3 separate regions of the Homo sapiens genome follow, and regions 1 and 2 are each linked to region 3. Evidence: promoter capture Hi-C in 16 types of primary human blood cells and fetal thymus (Javierre and others, 2016). All regions are on one chromosome and are shown on one strand. The core of a region is centred on a gene start or on the middle of the fragment in contact, and the rest is flanking DNA. Distances in the headings are between cores, read along the strand shown.

Region 1 (3,622 bases), core at 652-3,151, 230 kb before region 3:
GATCCCCAGCCACATGAGCGAGTGCCTAAAGCAAAGCAAGAGGAACAGGCAGGACCACAAGAAGAAAAAAGCAAGGGGAAGTCATCTTTAAAGGCCAAAAGGTCACATAAAACATAATAAAATACAACCGTTTCCTTTAAAAATTTTAATGGACAGGAAATGGTATAGAATAACTGCCAAGTCACATAAGTTAACTTTTTTGTTAATGTTTGTGATCCCGGAAAGAACACACTATCAGTCGATGCAAACCGCATGGGCGTTTTCATCAGTCGTTGTCTGAGCACATGACCGAGTGTGGGCCACGGACCCATCTTTACTTGGTCCAGAAATAAAAGCGGCTGCCATGTGTGGCAGGCTGCAGATCTCCCTCGATCTCAGGGCTGGGATCCGGTCTTGGTCTTGAGTGATAGGGATTCTCCGGTAAAGGTCGATCTGTTTTCACTTTGGTGACCTGGGAAGGGTGAAGAGGGCAAAAGCAAAGTTGAAAGCTAGGGTGGAGGAATCTGTAACCATCAATGCGCCTCCTGGTGTCTCCTCATTGCTCCCGCTGCTACAACTGCTCCCCGACTTAAATTCCCAGCAAATCACATTCAGACGTATTTAATCATTGAACAAACACTCAGGAAAGCCTACTTTATGTCATTCCATGTGGTAGAAACTAGGGATACAGAAGGGAACAAGATACTGTCCTCAAGGGGATCACAGTCTAGTGAGGGAGAAAGCCAGGAATAACAACCAAGATTTCCAAATCACCCTGATGGCTAATGGCAATGATGGAGACAGGAACTGCCTCTATAGGAGCAAGGACTGTGCACATCTAACCCATCCTGAAGGCTGGGGGTCTGGAATATTTTTAAGGAGGTAAGACTTAGCTTAAAGTCTGAGCAGGAGCCAGTCAGAAAGGCAAGGGAGGAAAAGACATTCCAAGGAAAGACTACATATGAAGATAGGCAGGCATGTCTTCAGAATGGCTGAATCAAAGGCTGCATGAAGAATGGAGGGAGATGAAGCATCTCACCAAGAACTTATTGCTAGAAATGATGCTGAGCACATGATTCCATTCCATTTTCACTCTTAGGAGGTCATTCTGCAGGGGCTCACTGAGGCCACCTAGCTAATAGTGGAAGAAATTGTACACAAAGCCAGATATGCCTACTCCAAAGCTTGTGCTTCTTAATACCACACTACAGTGGTGGACAGGCCAGATGATAAAGGGTATTAAATGATATGCAAAGGTGTTTGCGTTTTAACCTGACGGTTAACAGGTGCCACTGAAGCACGGCAGTAACTAAATCCCATCTCTGTAGGCTGGGAAGTGTGAAAGCTAAAGTGGAGAGAGGCAAGACCCAAATTGGGGAGCTGAGCCAATAAGCCAGGAGAGTGGTGAAGTACTAAACTGCAACAGGGAGAGAGATAATTTACACTCACAGTATCCCCTGATGGTCACAAAAATCTCAACTGGAAAGCCAGCAGAAACTGCTGTCATTTTAAAGATAAAGAAATAGGCCCAGAGAAGTAAGAAGACATAAGGCCACAGCTGTCAGCAGTCTTCTGATTATTCTTCTACTGGGCTGAACTCTTAAGTCACCTCATGTAAAATGACCAGATTCATCTTCCTAGATGTATAAATTCAGAAACCTTTTATTGGGAACAGAGCTTTTGTGTATACAATCACCCAATTATTATTATAACCACCTTATGAGGCATTATTATCTCTAGTGCACAGATGAAGACCAGGGAGGTTGGCATGCCTAAGATAAGATACACACTAATGTCAGAGCTAAAGCTGGAACCTAAGTCTTCAAGTCTACTAGTTTCGTTTGTTTGCTTTTGAAAGTTATCCCACCGCCCTGTCATAAGTACAGATGGTTCCTAATGATCCACTAGTGGTTCCTTGGTATTTGCAGCTCCTTTAAGGAATTAAAGACATTTATGAAATTGGCTGGGCACAGTGGCTCATGCCTGTAATCCCCGCACTCTGGGAGGCTGAGGCAGGTGGATCACTTGAGGTCAGAGTTCAAGACCAGCCCAGGCAACATGGTGAAACCCCTTCTCTACTAAAAATACAAAATTTAGCTGGCCATGGTGGCGGGTGCCTGTAATCCCAGCTACTCAAGAGGCTGAGGCAGAATTGCTTGAACCCGGAAGGCACTGGTTGCAGTGAGCAGAGATCGTGGCACTGTACTCCAGCCTGGGTGACAGAGTGAGACTCCACTTCAAAAAGAAAAACAAAAAAAATGTTGCCCAGGCTAGTCCTGAACTCGTGAGCTCAAGCGATCCTCCTGCCTCAGCCTCCCAAAGTGCTAGAATTGCAGGTGTGAGCCATGGCACCTGATCGAGAAATACACTTTTGAAAAGAGTTAAGAGAATTTTTTTTTTATCTCACAGAGTTTTAAAAAATGTTAATACAAAGATTCAAGAATAAATATGCTTTCTTACTAGCATGACTTGTTATTTCTTCTTTCATAAGTCAGAAATGAGAAAAGGTAGTTTTATTTGTTACATGTATAAGTTCTACCACTTTCCAATCTAGAATTATCAACTATTTAAAATAATATGTTCAGTACATCAAAAAGTATCTGAAAATAATCAAGCCAGATATAAAAGACAAAAAAATTGCTAAGTTATTACTCATGACACCAAGCTTATAATCCAACCATTCACAGATGCTATACACAAAGAGAAGGGAACTAGACCGGGTATGGTGACCTGTAATCCCATCACACTGGGAGGCTAAGGTGGGAGGACTGCTTGAGCTCAGGATCTCAAGACCAGACTGGGTAATATAGCAAAATCCTGTCTCTACTAAAATACAAAAATTAGTTGGGCATGGTGGCCTGTGCCTGTAGTCCCAGCTACTTGGGAGGCTGAGGTGGGAGAATCACCTGTGCCCAGGAAGTCAAGGCTGCAGTGAGCTGTGATCGCACCACTGCATTCCAGCCTAGGAGAGAGAGTAAGACCTGAGTTTTTTCCTCCATGCCTTGCTACCTGTGCTGCTCCACAGGGAACAGAGGGAGCTGAGGCTGAAGAAGCAGGGATGGGTCAGATCATAAAGGGCCTGCATGCCATGTTATGGAGAAGATGCTTTATCTCACCAGCAATGGAGAGTCCCCGTACAGTTTTTAAAAACACAGTGACATAAGATTTGTTTTCCACACAGATCACTCTTCTTGTGGAGGTGTAATTTAATCCTCAATTCTTCAATTTCATCTAAAGCCCACATTGATCCACCCTCCTCTCCCAGAAATTCATGTACCCCAGGTTAAGAACTCCTGTCCAAGAATAAGATAACAGCAGCAGGAACAATGAGAGGATTAAAAAAAAAATTCCAGAAGATGCTAATCTAAAGGAAGTGATGACTGCATGGAATCAGTAGGGAATGAAGAATTCAGGTTTCTAGCTCTGATGTTTCAACAGATGGTGGTGTCAAAACTAAGATAGGAAATATAGGAGAAAGAGAAACACTTTTAAAAGTACAAGAATGTAGTTTTAAAAAAAAAATCTTAGATATGTTCCTGAAAAATGTGGCATAAGCCTGATCCTATTTCCCCAGTGAATTCCACAATAACCTCCACAATGTTTTCAACTGACAGTGTTTCACTAATACTTTATCTTTCTCTAC
Region 2 (3,808 bases), core at 1,199-3,698, 240 kb before region 3:
CTCATCTCCCGCCACCCAGGATCTCCCCTGCTGTTTGAGGTGCTGAGATGCTGTCAGAGTTTGATGACTGACAAACAAACCAAACAGGAGAGTGGCTGGGCTGGGGTGAAGTAGGAGAAGACTAGACATACCTCCCAGAGCTCTTCAAGCTGGTGATGACCTATGAAGTTGTCCACTCTGCCACTAAAGACCACCAATCTGCAAGTGGTCCCAGCCCAACTCGTACTCCTCCCATGATAAGGAGCTCCGCCCCCTCACCATCCCTGGACTGGTCCTTCTGTGAGCAAGTTCTGCTCACATGTTCTGCATTACATGCAGATTGGGGTAGGGAACTGGAACTCAAAAGACCCTCGACCCTAGGAACACAAATTCCTTTTCCTCCCTGAAATCCCATCCCTGGGAGTCCCAGTTCTCTGGGTCTGGGCCTGGGCACCCGCATCGTGGCTCAGCTGTGGTTCTAGGAAGCTAGCCAGAGCCTGACAGAGAGATTGCCAAGACAGCCGCCAGAGGGCAGTGCTGCCCCACACACGCCCAGGGGCCAGCCTGCCTTTGTGTCTCAGGCTGCGTGGGTCTTTCAAGGAGAGGCTGCGTGTCTATGTTTGTGTGTATGTGACTGTGGGAGTCTATTACTTTGTGTGTCTCTGGCGGCAGGGTTGGGGGTTGTCTAGGCCAGTTGGTATATGTGGTTGTCCATTTTTGCTCACGTCTGAATACCCCAATTTCCATCCCAGGAAGGGGTGCAGATGCCTGGTTACTCAGTGGGGCCCCAGGCAGGACGGGGAGGAGCACGGCCATCCTCTGAAGAGCCCTCGCCACCATCACCCCCACCATGAGCCTCCAGCCAGACTGGGCCTCAGGTACTTGTCAGTTAAGTCAATGACCCAGTGACAAGGACCAGTTAGTTGTCCTTGTCACTGTCTGGAACCAGGGCCAGTCCTGGTCTGTGGCGTCCAGGTGCTGCAAAGCCCCAGTCCCTCCCTCCCAGCCTCCTCTCCCCTCCTGCCCACCATCACCATACAACAAGGACAGGGAGACTATACCCCCATATCACAGTGGAGGTGTCCGTTTGATCAGCCTTGAGCTGGACACCAGAGCTTCCTGGTGACTCACCGGCAGCCCCCAGGCTGGTCAGGCCCGGGAGAAGGACGCCAGTGTACCCTGCCTGCTGCTGTACCTGCAGGACATGCCTGGACACCAGCGTGCTCTGGGAGGGAGCTGTCCTGTTGCCTGCGGTGGTGGGGACAGGGGAAGGCTGCTCTGAGCTGTACTTGGGATGCGTCTGGGAAGACAGGACGGGCGTGCCAGCAAGAGAACAGCATGTGCAGGGCAGGGAGGTGTGAGGGCGCAGCCTGGGCAGCCAAGGGGCCTGAGCCGCAGGATAAGTGGATCTGGTGGCATGCGGGAGGCGGCAGAGGCAGCGGGCAGGGAGGGGCCTCTCTCCCCAGCAGCTTGGTTGCGGGGACGAGCCAAGCCACCCCATGCTCACAGCCAAGGCAGGGGTCTTGAGACCCGCCTCATACCTCTGTGACCTCCAAGGAGCAGACGGTCCCCGTTACTGCCCCTGCTGTACCCAGGGACCCAGGAACGCAGGGAATGTGAAGCTGGAGGGGGAGGGACAGCGACTGACATTCTAGACCGGTGATGCACCCAGATAGAGGCCTAGAGCGAGGAGAGGAAGTGCGGGGCACAGAATAAGTAGAGAGAGAACAGAGGGAGAAAGAGACACCGGGAGGGGAAGGGAGACAGAGACGGGGAGTCGGAGGAGGGAGCGGAGAGAACCGAGGGAAGGGGTTGCCAGGAGGAGGGGTAGGGAGAACTTTCTTGGCCTCCCTGCTCGCGCCCTCCCGGGCAATCAGGCCGGCAGGAGGCAGGTGGTCCGGGGCAGACAATGGCGCGGAGGAGTGCGGAACCTGGGACTAAATTTGGCGTTGCCTTTGCAGGGCGCGGGGCGCCCGTTCATCTCGATGCAAAGGAGAGACGAAATGAATATGCAGCGCGGGCTGTAATTGGGCCGCCGCGGCCGCCGCCGCCGCCGCCGCACTATAATTTTCCAAACAGGATCTTGCAATCAGGGCCTTATTCATTAGCGCATAAACAATTTTGTTTCTCGGCACTCGAGCCTGTCAATCACGCGGAGAGGGAACATCTTGGCCGGAGGCGCGGGCCACCGTGCGCGCTCCCACGCGCGCCCCCTCGAGCGCCGCCAGGTGGCTTTGTGTCCGGGAGGCCCTTGGGTGCTGGGGTGGAGGGGGCCCGGGGCACGCTTCGGGGTCCACACCCCAGCCCGGCAGATGGGGGTGGGCGGCCTGAGAGAACACAGGTTTGGGGGCCCACCGCCCCGGCTTGCAATTCTGCTTCTGACCTCACCAGCTCTGCCCTTGGGCAACCCCCCTTCTCCTCCCCAGCCTCAGTTTGCCCTCTGTAAGATGTGCTCAGCGCACTCACCCCGCAGAACTAGAGGGGGCATCGGGTGGAATAATGGATGCTTTGGGTGCTGAGGCTGGGGGGTGGGGTGCTGAGGAGGGGGCCTTCTAGCTCCTTTTATTAAAGGAGGGGATCAGAGGCCCACAGAGAGCTTCTCATCCCATCACCACCCCCACCCCTCTAGGACGGCTCCTGCGACTCTGTCTAGGGAGGCCTCAGAGTGGTTCTCTAAGAGCTGGGCTGGGCACAGCCCTGGGCTCACCCACACGCTGGGGTGGGCACGCATGCGTGATCTCCCGTGCTGGCTCCCAGGAGGGCTGTGCACGCGGGGGCACCTATAACTCTACAAGCCCATGTGTGACTGTGCCACAGGCTTTGTGCCTATGTGTGTGTGTGGGGGCGGGGGCGCTGTGACTGTGTGTTCAGCTACTTGGCTGCTGGTGAGATCATGGAGCTGAGTGTGGCTGCCTAGCAGTAGCCAGGTGACAAGGACTGAAGGGGGCTGGTGAACAGAACTGTGGGGTCTTTGGGGCCCAGGTGACCTGGCAAGAACTGCAGAGAGGGCAGGAAGCCCTGAAGGGCTGTGTCTTTCAGGACAGATGACATCTCTGTCTTCTCCGCCTCCTCCCTGGCGACCCCTCCATCAGCCCCATGTCCCCAGCACAGTCATCCAGGGTGCCCAGGCTGGGGAGATAAGCAGCCTGGTTTTGCCCTACTGCCAGGCCTTGCAGTGGGGAGGGTTCACCTTCCCCACCTCTCTGACCCCACCCCCAGCCCCCTCAGTGCCTCCCTGACAGCACCAAGACTCAGCCCCATGCTCCCTCCATCAGGGAAGCCTAAAGGCCTCTGGAATTTCAGGGCCAAATGTTCTAATCAGCTCAGATTTACAGAGATCACAGCAGGTCAGAGCTGGATAGACCCATTGCATGGATGAAGAAACAGAGGCCTAGGACTGGAAACAGGAACGATACAGGCCTGGGACCCCCCCACCCCCAGCAAGTGGGGAGCAGAGCTAGGATCTGAACTCCTGTCTCTGGCCCCAAAGCAGGGGGCAAGGACCTGACTTCCCGAAGACACACACCGCCGACAAGCGTAAGCACCAGCAGACCACGGAGGCCTCCCGCAACCCGCCATGCCCCTCTCCTGCCCCCACCCCGGCATCCTCCTCCTCTGCTGTGCCCAACCCCTGCCCCCTCCACAGTCCCCACTCCACACAGAGACAAAGAATTTGAGGATGTGCTGGCAGCCAACTGACAGGCCATCAGTCTCTACCCAGACACCCTCTTCACAGTTCTAGCCCCAGCCCGGATGCCACCCCACCCGCTAGTCACCCCCAGCACCGGGCCAGGAAGGGAGGCGGCCCGGGAAGGGGCTGTGGGGGAAG
Region 3 (3,875 bases), core at 197-2,696:
AGAAACTCCCCCTTTCTTTGGACAACTGGACCCCCACACCTCCACCCTGTCCCCATCCCTTTTGCTGATAATCCCATCTCCTTGCCCTGTAAATGCTAGGGGGCCCTTGATTTGGGGAGGAAGGGAAGGCTGAAGCCGGTCCCGGCACCCTGAGAGCCCCAGGGCCCTCCAATGCCCCACTCCTTCTCCAGGTCTGCCCTGGCTTGCTCTGTCTCCCTAGGGCAGCTGGCTTTTGTCCCAGGGGAGCATGGGAACAGCTTGGGTGAGAATGGGGGAGGGGCTTCCCAGCAGGTTTCACCTCTCCCACCTGGCATAATTTCTACCCTGCACCCAGTGATGCCCAGGAGCCAGCACAAGAACCTCTGAGCTCTCCTGCCGGCTTTCCCCACTGTGGGGCCCACAGGATGGCTGGGTGTGCTGGGGAAACTGAGGGAGATGACTTGTGGGTGCCAGCACCATGGGACTTTGGGTGATCTTGGACCTATTCCTTCCTCCTTCTAGGTGCTTCCTGAGCTGGCGAAAAGGAGAGCTGGATGCTGGGATTCTATAAATTCGGCGGTGGATGTGAGTCTAGCTACAGCATGGACCCTGGCCAGCCCTGGAATCTGAGTTCAGAGATCTTTGAAAAAATGCCTTCCGATAACTGAGCACCTACTACATGCTGGACACTGCACCAGGAGATTTGTGTGCATTCCCTCATTGAATCTTACAACCACCCTCTGGGATGGTTTTTGCTATTAAGCCGATTTTATAGATGAGAATACTGAGGGCTAGAAAAGATAAGTACCTTGTCCAAGGTGACACGGCCAGTAAGCTGTGGAGTCTGGATTTGAACTAGGCTCTCTTGGAGTTTGGAGCCCGGTCTTTTCATTTCTGGCAGAGACCTGTGGCTTCAGGGGGCGGAGCCCAGCCCATGGGGGAAGTAAGTCCTTCCTGTTAGATCTGTCTGAGGAGTAGTGAGTTTCTCATCTAGGAAACCATCAGCAGGCCAGGCTGGACTGCCCCATTTCTAGCCCCCTTTCTTCTCTGCAGACTGCCCTGTTTCTAGCCCCTTTTCTTCTCTACCCTTTTCTGTAGAGTGCGTTAGACCCATTTTACAGAAGGGGACTCTGAGACCCTTTCTTCTCTGCGGGGCAGGGTATGTGGTTCAGACGAGCCGCTTCCATCCCCAGTTCTGTCCCTAAGCCCTGGGTGACCTCAGCATTGAGCATCGTCTCTGAGCCTCAGTTTCCTGTCTATATCTAGTGCCACCAGGCATCAGAAACGTAAGTGCTTCAAGGATCTTGGGTGAAAAGCCGCTTTAGCGGCGAGCATACACTAATTAATAAAATGCCTTGGCCGGGGCTGGGCAGAGGAAGTAAGCGGGCAGCCGAGGTGACAGCTGGAGGGAGGAGCGGGGGTGGAGCCGGGGGAAGGGTGGGGAGGGGATGGGCTGGAGCTCCGGGCAGTGTGCGAGGCGCACGCACAGGAGCCTGCACTCTGCGTCCCGCACCCCAGCAGCCGCGCCATGAGCCGTGAGTGCGACCCCGGTGCCCGGTGGGGAATTTTCTTGGCCTCCTGGTGGAGCCTTGAATGCCAGGCTCAGCCCCTCATCTCTCTCCTCTGCAGGGAGTCTCTTGCTCTGGTTCTTGCTGTTCCTGCTCCTGCTCCCGCCGCTCCCCGTCCTGCTCGCGGACCCAGGGGCGCCCACGCCAGGTAGGCGGCCCCATCCCTCCCCAAGGGAATCCCCGGTCTTGCGCCCCTGGCCTGGTTTCAACCCCCTCCTTTCCCCTCCAGCGGGCCCAGCTTCCCCTTTCTGCTCGCGGTGCTGAGAAAGACTGAGGCTGAGTCTTTTGGTGGGATGGGGGCTCCCTGAAGCCCCCCCGGCGGTGTGGCCTTGGCTAATGGGCTATCTAGTTCTTTCAGGGGAAACAGCAGACTGGGATCTGGTGCCAACTTGGGGAGAAGGGACAGTCCCTATCCATCCCCCTCACCTGTTCTGGGCCCCAGATGTCTAAGCAGCCTCTGCACCCAACAACCCCGCTGTTTCCTATAGGGGCCTCTTTGGGAGGAAGCCGCAGGCACCAAGGGAAATGAGTTCCCTTTCTCCAGCCTCTAACCGTCTGGGAACCCATCCTGATTCCCATTGCCAGTGGAGAAGGTCTCCCCTGGTGAAGACTTCGGGAGAACATGGGAGATGGAAATACATTTAGGAGCCGGGATGCTTCATCTGGGGTTTAAGAGATCCCCATTGAGCAAATGAGGAAACCGAGGCTCAGTAGGTGCCATGATTCCCCAAGCTCACAAAATACATGGTGGGCCCAGGATCTGAACTCAGGTCTGTCTGCGTCCACACACTTCGCAAGGTCTTTCCACAGAAAGCTGCTTCTACCCACAATGGACCCGGAGCCACTCTGGGTTTCATGGGGGAGGTTGATGGGGAAATTCCGCCCTTCCCTCCCCCATGCATGTGCCAGGTTCCAGGTGAAGGAATTCAGCTCCTCGCTCAGCCAACCTTCCTCCCCCAGCTCGCTGCTTGTGTGTGTGCGTGTGTGTGAGCATGTGTCCCAGTTGGATATAGTTTCCTCCACCACCTAGCTGTGTAAAATCTCTAAAATGAGGCCCAGAGAGGGCAGGAGGGAGCAGAGGGAGTCCGCACTTTCTGCTGTGATGCTCTAAGGATCTGGTGCGTGGGGGAAAGAGGAAAGATATGTACATGGATTTTGGATCAGACCAAGTTTCCTGAAACGGGCTTTGGGTGGGTGGCATTTAGGGGACCCAAAGAGAGGACGGAGGGTGCTCTAGGAAAGGGATTGCGTTGAATAAAAGTCTGGTTTATGGGAAGAGGAGGAGGAAGACTCATGTGGCCAGCACTTTAAAGTTTACAAAGGTTGGTTGTGGACATCCACCTCTTTGGTGCTCTCAACAGCCCTGCCAGAGAGATGCGTTAGACCCAGTCTACAGAAGGGGACTCTGAGGCCCAGAGGGAGTGAAGCCACTTGTCTGAATCCTCACAGTGAGCTGGTGGTGGGGAGTAGAAGGGGCTCTTCAGGTTGCCTCGCTGACCCATCTTGTCAGTCCCTGGATCAGCCCAGCACTTCCTCTGAGGCCCCATCTGGCCTCATCCAGGCACTCTTGGTATACAGGTCCCACCCGTCTGTATTCTTTTTTAGTCCATTCACTAATGCACAATGAGCCATGGTCTGTGCTATTTTGTTTTTTGCCTTTTCTGTTTCCTTTTGTATAATAAATGTTTACACGGAATTGTTTTTTTTTATCCCCAAGGGTTATTTATGCCAGTCTTTGGCTGGGGCCTGGAGACACGGAGCTGGGAGGAGCTGACAGGCTGATGGTGGAGCCAGAAATGCCAACAGACTGTCATCCAAGGGGACCAGGGCTGTGCGGAGCTCATGGGAGGAAGCAGGGGTATAGGGAGCCCAGGGAAGGGAGCAGGGGTGTGCGGAGCTCAGGGGAGGGAGCAGCTGCCTCTCAGTGCGAAGAATTGAGGGAGGCTTCTTGGATCTGATGACTTTTGGACTGGACCTCGAAGGAGGTGGCGGGTGGGGGAAACACTAAGAGACTCGACCAGGAAACACCGTAAGGGTAATGTGGAGCAGGAGGCTGAGGTTGGATGCGTAATGTGGGGATGAGACTGGAGGCCAGAAAACTGGTACCGAGGCTCCTGCAAGGATCTAGGAAAGAACGAATGACTGGTGGAGTGCAGGGGCAGAAGGTCTGGGTTGCCCTCATATTTCCAAGTCTGCGAGTAAACTGAGGGCCAAGCTACTTGGGCATCTGCCCCAGGAAGCCAAAGCCTGTCTTTTACCTCTAGAGGCAAAGGAGATGAAGAGATGAGGGCTGCACTCACCTAAGAGGGCAGGCGGAGGGAGAGAATG

What was found. The method cuts DNA at HindIII sites, captures the fragments that hold promoters and counts their contacts. A CHiCAGO score of 5 or more calls a contact.
Region 1: a fragment that was not itself captured here is called in contact with the fragment with the promoter of PTGS1 in region 3 in 4 of 17 cell types (megakaryocytes, erythroblasts, endothelial precursors and 1 more); the score reaches 7.7 in megakaryocytes.
Region 2: a fragment that was not itself captured here is called in contact with the fragment with the promoter of PTGS1 in region 3 in 15 of 17 cell types (megakaryocytes, erythroblasts, endothelial precursors and 12 more); the score reaches 10.5 in megakaryocytes.

Annotation. Positions count from the first base shown.
Region 1 is chr9:122,143,928-122,147,549 of GRCh38, forward strand. It overlaps NDUFA8 (NADH:ubiquinone oxidoreductase subunit A8), which reads right to left. Exons shown (of 4, transcript NM_014222.3): 4 at 131-451. The coding sequence ends at 314. Among named protein-coding and RNA genes, the nearest start is that of NDUFA8, 14 kb to the right of the region's middle. The HindIII fragment of the contact is 1,481 bases long and covers 1,162-2,642 here.
Region 2 is chr9:122,124,836-122,128,643 of GRCh38, forward strand. No RefSeq gene overlaps it. Among named protein-coding and RNA genes, the nearest start is that of MIR4478, 6.6 kb to the left of the region's middle. RefSeq lists enhancers at 308-1,074, 1,075-1,840, 1,841-2,607, 2,608-3,373. The HindIII fragment of the contact is 5,201 bases long and covers 1-3,808 here.
Region 3 is chr9:122,369,578-122,373,452 of GRCh38, forward strand. PTGS1 (prostaglandin-endoperoxide synthase 1) reads left to right here and starts at 1,447. Exons shown (of 11, transcript NM_000962.4): 1 at 1,447-1,514; 2 at 1,609-1,695. The coding sequence starts at 1,508. The HindIII fragment of the contact is 9,806 bases long and covers 1-3,875 here.